Regions from separate parts of the Homo sapiens genome. Here region 1 is linked to region 2. The links are contacts of gene promoters, found by promoter capture Hi-C in blood cells and fetal thymus (Javierre and others, 2016). All regions are on one chromosome and are shown on one strand. Each heading gives the region's core, a stretch centred on a gene start or on the middle of the fragment in contact. The rest is flanking DNA. Distances are from core to core; before and after follow the strand shown. Region 1 overlaps SDCCAG8 (SHH signaling and ciliogenesis regulator SDCCAG8). Region 2 holds the start of FH (fumarate hydratase).

Evidence for each region. The method cuts DNA at HindIII sites, captures the fragments that hold promoters and counts their contacts. A CHiCAGO score of 5 or more calls a contact.
Region 1: a contact is called between a fragment that was not itself captured here and the fragment with the promoter of FH in region 2, in 5 of 17 cell types (naive CD4 T cells, non-activated CD4 T cells, total CD4 T cells and 2 more). The highest score is 11.0, in naive CD4 T cells.

The regions. Positions count from the first base shown.
Region 1 is chr1:243,316,595-243,321,402 of GRCh38, reverse strand. It overlaps SDCCAG8 (SHH signaling and ciliogenesis regulator SDCCAG8), which reads right to left. Exons shown (of 18, transcript NM_006642.5): 9 at 4,510-4,648. Among named protein-coding and RNA genes, the nearest start is that of MIR4677, 27 kb to the left of the region's middle. RefSeq lists a silencer at 4,742-4,808. The HindIII fragment of the contact is 8,285 bases long and covers 1-4,808 here.
Region 2 is chr1:241,518,325-241,522,717 of GRCh38, reverse strand. FH (fumarate hydratase) reads left to right here and starts at 2,963. Exons shown (of 10, transcript NM_000143.4): 1 at 2,963-3,127. The coding sequence starts at 2,996. RefSeq lists silencers at 2,849-2,978, 2,801-3,083, 3,259-3,528 and an enhancer at 2,589-3,185. The HindIII fragment of the contact is 3,380 bases long and covers 568-3,947 here.

The DNA.
Region 1 (4,808 bases), core at 1,850-4,349, 1.8 Mb before region 2:
GACAACTTGGGGGAGGAGAGAGGGGGGCATGGGCTGGAAAAGTACCTATGGGGCACTATGCTCAATACCTGGGTCCACCATATGTAACAATCCTACACATGTACCCCTCTTTCAAAACTAAAAGCTGAAATATTTTTTTAAAAGTTTAATGAAGGATACAGACAAACAAGCAATAATAATACATTTTGATAAATGCTATATAAGTAGTGGTTCTCAAATGGAGGTAAATGTGCCCACCAGAGGACATTTGGCAATGTATGGAGACATCTTCAGTTGTCACAACTTGGGGGAGGAGGGTAAGCTACTAGCATTGAGTAGGTAGAGGCTTCTAAACATCCTACAATGTGCAGAACAGCATCCAAAGCAAAGAGTTACATAGCCCAAAATGTCAATAGCACCAAGGTTGAAAAACCCTGCTATAAAGGCATATAAAGGGTACATCGAATCTAGACAGAAGAGATAAGAGGTTTCCTAGAGGGAGTACCATGTAGGCTAAGATAAGTAAGGCTAAAGTAATATACAGGCAGTGGAGCAGAGAAGAATGCACATGGCACATACAAAGACTCAGAGGCTGGAGAGAGGATGGGATAATCAGCAGGGTTATCACCACCACCGCTATTTATTGAGAAATATTTTGTGCCTGCCTGGGTTTGTATAAGATAACCAATATACATTTTAAAATGCAGTCCTCATTCACAATCCTAGGAGTCACATATTTCTCCATTTTACAGATGAGGAAAAACTGGGGCACAGAGAAGTTAAAGTAACTCGTCCAAGGTCACACAGCCAGTGAATGGTGGGGCCAGAAGTTGAATCTAAGTCTGGCTAACTCTAGTAAGCCCATGTTCACCCCCTAAGCCCTCCTGCCTTTGACGATAGCTGAGTGTACTGGGAGACAGGGCGCGAGAGGAGGAAAAAAGCAGCAGCCTTGGAGGGCAAAAGGGAGCCACATTAGGACAGACCACGGGCATGGGAAAGAATGTGGAGACTGTCTTGAAGGCAGTGAAAATTCACCGAAGAATTTTAAATCAGAGTCACATGATCAAATGTGTCTTTAAGAAAGATCGCTTCTGGCTGCAGTGTAGGGAGTGGAACGAAGGAGGGAGGCAAGCTAGGAAGAAGTGTAATAGATAAATCCAGAGATTACTTAGCTTCCATAAGAAAAGTGTTAATGAGGGAAAGAATTCAAGAAAACGTTAGAAACTCAGATCTGTACTTAGTGACTGGTTAAAAGTTAGGGGTGAAGGACAGGGTGAAATCCAGTTTTCTGATCAGAGCATGTTAGTGAGTAAAAGTGCCATCCAGTAAGAGAATACAGAAGGGGCAGCAGATTTGGGAGAGTGAATGTGTGAGTTCAATTTGAGATGGTAAAATTTATGTTTAAATGGGAAGAAAAGAAGACCAGCCTGGACACAACAGATAAAATGAGAGATAAAAAGAAAGAATGCTGAAGAACTAGAGGTGAAAATGAAGACATGGAGTAGATTTAACTTTGATAGGGAGGAAAGAAGAGCAAAGGCCCTAGTCAGAGAGTGTGGTTTCAGAGAGATCTTAGGGGCATTTCAGTTCATGCAGGATGTTAGCGTAGAAGTAGGGGATATAGTAGAGTTAAGGAAGCTGAAGAGTATTAGTGTTTTGTGTATCAGCAACATGGAAATTCAAACATTTAAGGATGATGAAAGAGATAGAATGAAGAGGAAAAGGATCAGATGTTAAAACTTTTAAAAAGGGGCCAGGCGCGGTGGCTCACGCCTGTAATCCCAGCACTTTGGGAGGCCAAGATGGGTGCATCACCTGAGCTCAGGAGTTTGAGACCAGCCTGGCCAACATTGTGAAACCCTGTCTCTACTAAAAAAACAAAATTAGCCAGGCATGGTGGCGCATGCCTGTAATCCCAGCTACTTGGGAGGCTGAGGTGGGAGAATCACTTGATTCCAGGAAGCTGAGGTTACAGTGAGCTGAGATTGCGCCATTGCACTCCAGCCTGGGCAACAAGAATGAAACTCTGTCTCAAAAAAATGATAATAAAAATAAAAATAAAATAGAAAGGGTCAAAGAGAGCCTTCTCAATTGAGAGATTTTATTGATTAGGGAGGAGAGAGACAACACTGATTTCAAAGAGGAGTGTGATATGGTTTGGATACCTGTCCTCTCCAAATCTCTCATGTTGAAATGTGACTTCCAGTGTTGGAGGTGGGGCCTGGTGGGAGGTGTTTGGGTCATGGGGGTGGATCCCTCATGAATGGCTTGGTGCCCTATTAGTTATCCTGAGGTCTGATTGTTAGAAAGGGCCTGGCCCCTCTCCTCCTCGCTCAGTCCTGCTCCCTTGTGAGGCTTGCTCCCCTCTGCCTGCTGTCAGAGTGAAATCTTCCTGAGGCCTTACCAGAAGCATATGTTGGCACCATGCTTCGTATGCAGCCTGCACAACATGAGCCAAAATAAACCACTTACTTCTCTTTATAAATTACCAATCTCTGCTCTTTCTTTATAGCAATGCAAAACAGATTAACACAGAGCGGTAGCTTAATTTCAAAGAGGAATAGGACCTGAGAGTAAGTGCCAAAACAAAGCCCTGGAAATGGCAGTCAGGAGTGAAGTAACTGCGGTTTCCTCCATCACACCCACCTGAGACGACTTGACTGACACAAGGGCCTTCACTGAAGGTTTTGAAACATGGCATTGAGGGACAGCTAGAGCTCACAACAAATGAAGAAACAGGAGAGTCTGAGGAAACAGTATGTTGGGGAGTTTGGTCATAACTGAACCTAAGTTTCAAAAGGCATGAGGGTCAAACGGGAAGAGTTATGGATGAACTGGATAAAGACAAATGGACATAGCAATGGCTGACAAGAGGCTTAATGCAGAATTGAATAGCCCTAATTTTTTTTTAACTTTTATTTTAGGTTCGGGGGTACATGTGAAGGTTTGTTACATAGGCAAACTCATGTCACGGGGTTTTGTTATACAGATTATTTTATCACCCAGGTATTAAGCCCAGTACCCAATAGTGATCTCTTCTGCTCCTCTCCCTGCTCCCACCCTATATCCTCAAGGAGATGCCACTGTCTGTGGTTTCCTACTTTGTGCTCATAAGTTCTTATCATTTAGCTCCCACTTATACGTAAGAATATGCAGTATTTGGCTTTCTGTTCCTGCGTTAGTTTGCTAAGGATAACTGTCTCCGGCTCCATGCATGTTCCTGCAAAAGATCGGATCTCATTCTTTTTATGGCTGCATACTATTCCATGGTGTCCATGTTCCACATTTTCTTTATACAATCTGTCAGTGATGAACATTTAGATTGATTCCGTCAATTTCGGTTGATTCCATCAATTCCATCGTTTACGTTTGCTATTGTGAAGGGTGCTGCAATGACAATTCACATGCATGTGTCTTTGCAGCAGAATGATTTATATTCCTCTGGGCATATACTCAGTAATGTAGCCCTAATATTTTAATAAAACACTGAGATTCATATATGGTTTAGACCAGTGCTATCCAACAAAACTTTTCATGATAATGAAAATGCTCTATATCTGCACTGTCCAATATTTGCTACACGTGGCCATTAAGAACTTGAATTGTATGCTAGTGTGTCTAGGGAAAATACATGCAACTTTAACGGATTACGGTGTGGCCCCCAAATACAGTAATGAATCAACAGTAACCTCCTATTCTTCAAAGTGCCTATAACACCGTCCGATCACTAAGTATAAACTGTTATTCTCATTAAGTATGTTTGAGTTACCTTACAGTAAGTCCAGACTCAAAGATGCTACTAAGACCGGGCGCAGTGGCTCACGCCTGTAATCTCAGCACTTTGGGAGGACGAGATGGGCAGATCACCTGAGGTCATGAGTTCCAGACCAGCCTGGCTAACATGGTGAAACACCATCTCTGCTAAAAATACAAAAATTAGCTGGGCATGATGGCCCGTGTCTGTAATCCCAGCTACTTGGGAGGCTGAGGCAGGAGAATCACTTGAACCCAGGAGGAAGAGGTTGCTGTGAGCCGAAATCGTGCCATTGCACTCCAGCCTGGGCGACAGGGCAAGACTCTGTCTCAAAAAAAAAAAAAAAAAAATGCTACTAAATATGTATATATTATTGTCTTTGGTATATTTGGATTTTCTCAAAACTTCCCAATTATTGAGGAAAAACATTTGTCTTTAGTCATATACGAACACATACAAACTAATGCCTGGGTGTTAAGATTTTTGCAGCATTGCAAATTATCAGCAAATAAAAAGATTAAGCATATAGGTCTCTCAAAGTATTATACTGTACTACATTCTCTGAACAGTGATACAACAACAGTATTTGCAGAGCAGTAAGAATTCTCCAAATAGCAAATTTGTTTAATTCAGAAAAGTCAACATTAACAGATTGATAATTCACTTTGTGTGTTTGAAAAACAAAGTTTAGTTATAGAAGAATAACCAAATAAATACTCAGAAGAAAAAAGAAAAAAAAAAGAAAGACACTTTTATTTGCATCTTATTAGACTTGCCTTGGTTTTTTCAAAATTGGCTTCCTCAGATATTTGCAAAACTTGTTTCACCTGTTCATAAGCACTTGCTTCTCTTTGCTGCGTATCTGCCAAGCTGCTCCTTACGGAAACTAGTGCAGACATCAAGTCATCTCTTTCTCTGTCAGCACAAAAAGAACATTCAAAACAAGAAATGATCAAACGATCCTGTCCTCATAAGTCAGGGAGAGAAAAGCATTAATATGTATTAGAAGAGCCAGGGTAGGCCGGCTGAGCACATATGAAATAAAGCACACCCCAGAGAAAGACCCTCTGTCCTC
Region 2 (4,393 bases), core at 1,714-4,213:
TAATTTCCTCTTCCTTTGTTTACTCCTAGTTACGGTGGAGCACTTACTTGAGGCGTTTTCTTGAAAAGTGTAGATAAGAAGTAAATTTTTTGACATCTTGATCATGTGAAAACATTTTAATTCTCTTCACACACTTGATTTCTCTGGGTATAGAATATAAAGTTGGAAATAATTTTCCGTTAACAATTTGAAGACATCATTCAACTGCTGTCTGGCTTCCGATATTGTTGTTGTGAAGTCTAAGGATTTCTAATCCTTTGCTTATTTATTTTTCTCTCTGAAAGATTCCAGTCTCTTCTCTTTGCCCTTGGTATTCTAACATTTCTTGTTGACATAACTCATTCTGGCTAGTTCATATCTGCTAGTTCTACAATATATTTTTCTGAATTTATTTTTTTAAGGTTTATTCCATTTTTTCCTAATGTTTCCCCTACATTATTCACATGTTGGACATACTGAACTGTTTCTCTAATTTTATTTACTTCTTTTATTTTCCTTCTCTTTGAATATTTGCTCTACTTTCTGGGAGACTTTTATGGGTGTATCTTGCAAATTTTCTGTTAAGCTTCCTCTAGGAAACCCACTGGTAATCTCCCAGGCTGGGAGGTATCCTAAATTAGAATTTGCAAAAGTCTTTAGTTTGAATAAGGAGAACATTTTGATTGATACAATTTGAACCTCGCAATCAATTTTGTCAGCCAGGTGTTGAGATTTAGAACACAGGCAAGAGAAAACCATTGCACTTTTCCCTTGTCCCTCAGCAGGACACCAATCACATCCCCTACCTTAAACAGAAAGCAAAGTAAAACAAACAAGAACAAACCAGGCAAGCATCAACAAGAAGAAAGCAGGTCAATATTATTATCAGACAAGTCCAAAGTTAAAAAAAAAAAACCCAAACTCTAAGCAAAGTAAAAACATTATTTCAAATAGATAACATAAGTCATTCTAAAATGAAGATATCTAGCCTTTATTAAAGGCTTTATGTACGTTTTATTACGAATTAATAAAAATAAATTAGCTAAGTTAATATTTCCTAAATTTTAGTCATTTATATAGCATCTTCATATTATACTGAATATTTTACTTCAAATAAAATGAATAATTAAAAATGGAACTTCATATTACTACTGCAGATAGAAAATCAGTTTCACTAATAAATCGAAGTAAAACACACAAATAAATATGTGGATGTTCCTGGGCATCAATTTTTCTCTTCTATGTACAGGAATAATAATAGGACCTATCTCATAGGGTTGTTTTTGAGTGTTCCAAGAATTAATACATATAAAGTGCTTTGAAAAATTCTAGAACATAATATGTGTCATAGGTAATTTTTAAAAGGGATTAAAATAACCTATTTATAAAAAGGCTATTAATTTGGGTTTTGAAAAGTTAAACTGTATGGTAGAAATAAGAGACATGCTCGAAACAAAAATGAAACAAAAAATAAAATAAAATGAGAAATATACAGCAGGCAAATAATAGCCAATATGAAATTGGTAGAGAAATATCAATATTAAAAAAAGTTTAAAAGGACAAGCAACAATAACAATAAAGAGGGGCACCACACAATGAAGAAAGAGATGATCTATGAAGAAATGATAAACATATGTTCATTAAATAATTTTGTGTAATAGCAAAGAAAAATGTTCTTTATTAAGAAACTGGATAAATAAAATATTTCATATTCATGTGATCCAATATGATTAATTTTAAAAGATCATGGCTATATCTTAAAAGCATAGAGTTCAATTATGCAACAGTAAAACTTTAAAGTAAAATATTAAAACCATTGTTTGTATATTAGTGTATGAAGCAAAAAATACACAGAACTGAAAGGATGCATCAAAATAATGATATACACAATAATGATACCTGCTGGGAAGGAGGAGAACAAAAACAAAACGTCATTCCATTATTAGCAATGTTTTAAAGAATTTGCATTCAGTTTTCTAGTGTGTTTTGATTGTAGTTCAACTATTACAATCTCATTTGAATTTTTATATTTTAAATATGTGTCAAATTTATAAGTCACAAAATAACATAATGTTACCAAAAGGTTTGGCAAGTTTGTAAGTTTGACTCATAAATTTGGCTTTGCAGGTTCTGGACTTTTGATTTTAAGAACATCCGATCGCTCTCTCTTTACTGTCATCTGGTTCCAAGCAATAGAAAAGAGAAAAGATAAAACTGTGGTTCAGATGCAATTTTATATCAATTCCTGCTTTTCTGTAATCAACTATTATATTAAAACAATATGCCTTTAATTTGAAAATGTATAAATTAGCTATGCAAAAAACTGGGAGAACGATATACAAATAATAAAAATTCCGAGGTTCCCTATAATTGTGTACGTCTTCCACAATACATTAAAAAAAAAAAAAGAGTTCTGAGGGTATAGGCTAAGAAGAGAAAGGAAACGGTAGCGATCTCAAAATGATAAGTTAAAAGAAATAAGTAAGTAGCTTATTTTTCAGTTGTGGGATTATGAATAATTACTATTTCATTATCTACACTTTGCTGCACTTCCCAAAATTTCTACACAGAAGATACAATCTGGAAGAAATGAAGAAAGATTTCAGTAGTAAGAACGTGTAATGAGTGATTACATGATAAATAAAACAATAAATATTTCTTTCTAGGATATTTCACCAACCAAACACGACCTGATTCACCAACTAATACTCCCGCCTTCTAACAGCCACACGTAAAAATCAGACCGGCTCCAAGAATAACCTGAGCCTCCTTTCCCATAATTCCCTTCTTTCTAGTTTCCCATGAATCCGAAGGCCTTACACCCCACACTACTACTAGAAAGTTAACCCGCCCCCTCATTCTTTACTGGTCATTCACGATTGGTCCTGCCCCACCTGTCGGTGTGAGGCTGTTGATTGGATAAGAGCGGAGGCCGGTGGGCGGAACGGTTTCTGACAACCGGCGTGGAGGCGTGGCCACAGCCGCCCAGAAATTCTACCCAAGCTCCCTCAGCACCATGTACCGAGCACTTCGGCTCCTCGCGCGCTCGCGTCCCCTCGTGCGGGCTCCAGCCGCAGCCTTAGCTTCGGCTCCCGGCTTGGGTGGCGCGGCCGTGCCCTCGTTTTGGCCTCCGAACGCGGCTCGAATGGTGAGCGCAGGCCGCCATCCCCCGGCCTCCCCGCAGTGACCTTCAGCCCTCCTGCCTGCCGGCCTGGGCGCCCGCGACTTGGCGGGAGAGATTCCCCGGGCGTCCGGGCCGCGCCAGACTCTGGGCTTAGCGCCCGTGCCGGCGTGGCGGGCCTCCCGGCCTCGGGACGCCTCTTCCGGCGCAGGGATGGAGCCGCAGCCCGGGAGAGCGCTTGGGGAGGGACGGGGGCTGTCAGAGAGGGTCCTACTGGGCCCGCTCCCGGCGCCTCCTCGGAGCCGTCCGTGGCGGGCCGAGGCCGGGGCGTTTTGAGGTAACTTCGCTGCTGCTGGCGCGCAGGCCCCCAGCCCCGGGGCGCTGCCCTCAAGGACAGTGCCGGCGTGGGCGGAGGGTGCTGGGAGAGGGGCAGCTCCCGCACCGTCCTGCCCCATAGCTGGGCCTTGCTGGCCGGACACTGGCCGCCTGTGCATCTAGTGGTTTCTGAACTGTGGTTTGTTTCGCCAAGGGGCACTGCACTGCTTTCAGGCCCTCCAGGTGGGGTAGAAGGTTCTTCGAAGATTTTACTTCCTTTGAAATTGCATGCTCAGTTTGTTAGGCTGACTATGGTTTCCCCCGTAATTGTTGTAAAACTCTTCAATTCCGAATACCGCGGGCATAGTGTTCTGAAGCATGTTTGAGCAGATTGGCTAGGAGCTGAATCGGTACTTTTTATTCAGAAAGCCAGCTAAGAACTTAAAGATCCAAGTTCAGGTTATGACATGCTTACGTAAGTCATTTTGCTCTTTAGAGTGTCATCTTTAGGAATGCAGGCTTTTAAAAAGCTTTAAATACATATGTATATTGTTAGGAAACGTTTGAGAAATGATAGTTGAAGAGTTACAGTTCTGCACTGGTGTAGCATGAGGTTTGCAATCTAAGAGATGTGATTTCAAATCCGTATGCAAAGTTGAAATACTTACAGCTACTCAGCAAAACTGCACATGTGAAAATACCATGTAGCGAGTGCTCATTAAATAAGTGCCCCATCTAGGGTATTTCAAAGGGCCAGTACTTTTTCTGGACTCTAAACTTCAAGATAATTTGATTGGGTCACTATACCTACGATATACAACTATACTACAGAATCAGAGATGTTTTGTATTCCTCGAACTCCCTGCTCGAATAATTTTAGGGCATTTTAAAACCTTTACATATTTTTAAATTTATTTATTGTTTATTTAGTGTTTTGTAAAGGGAAGCAGACTGGAGAACTTCTGAATCTATCCTGTT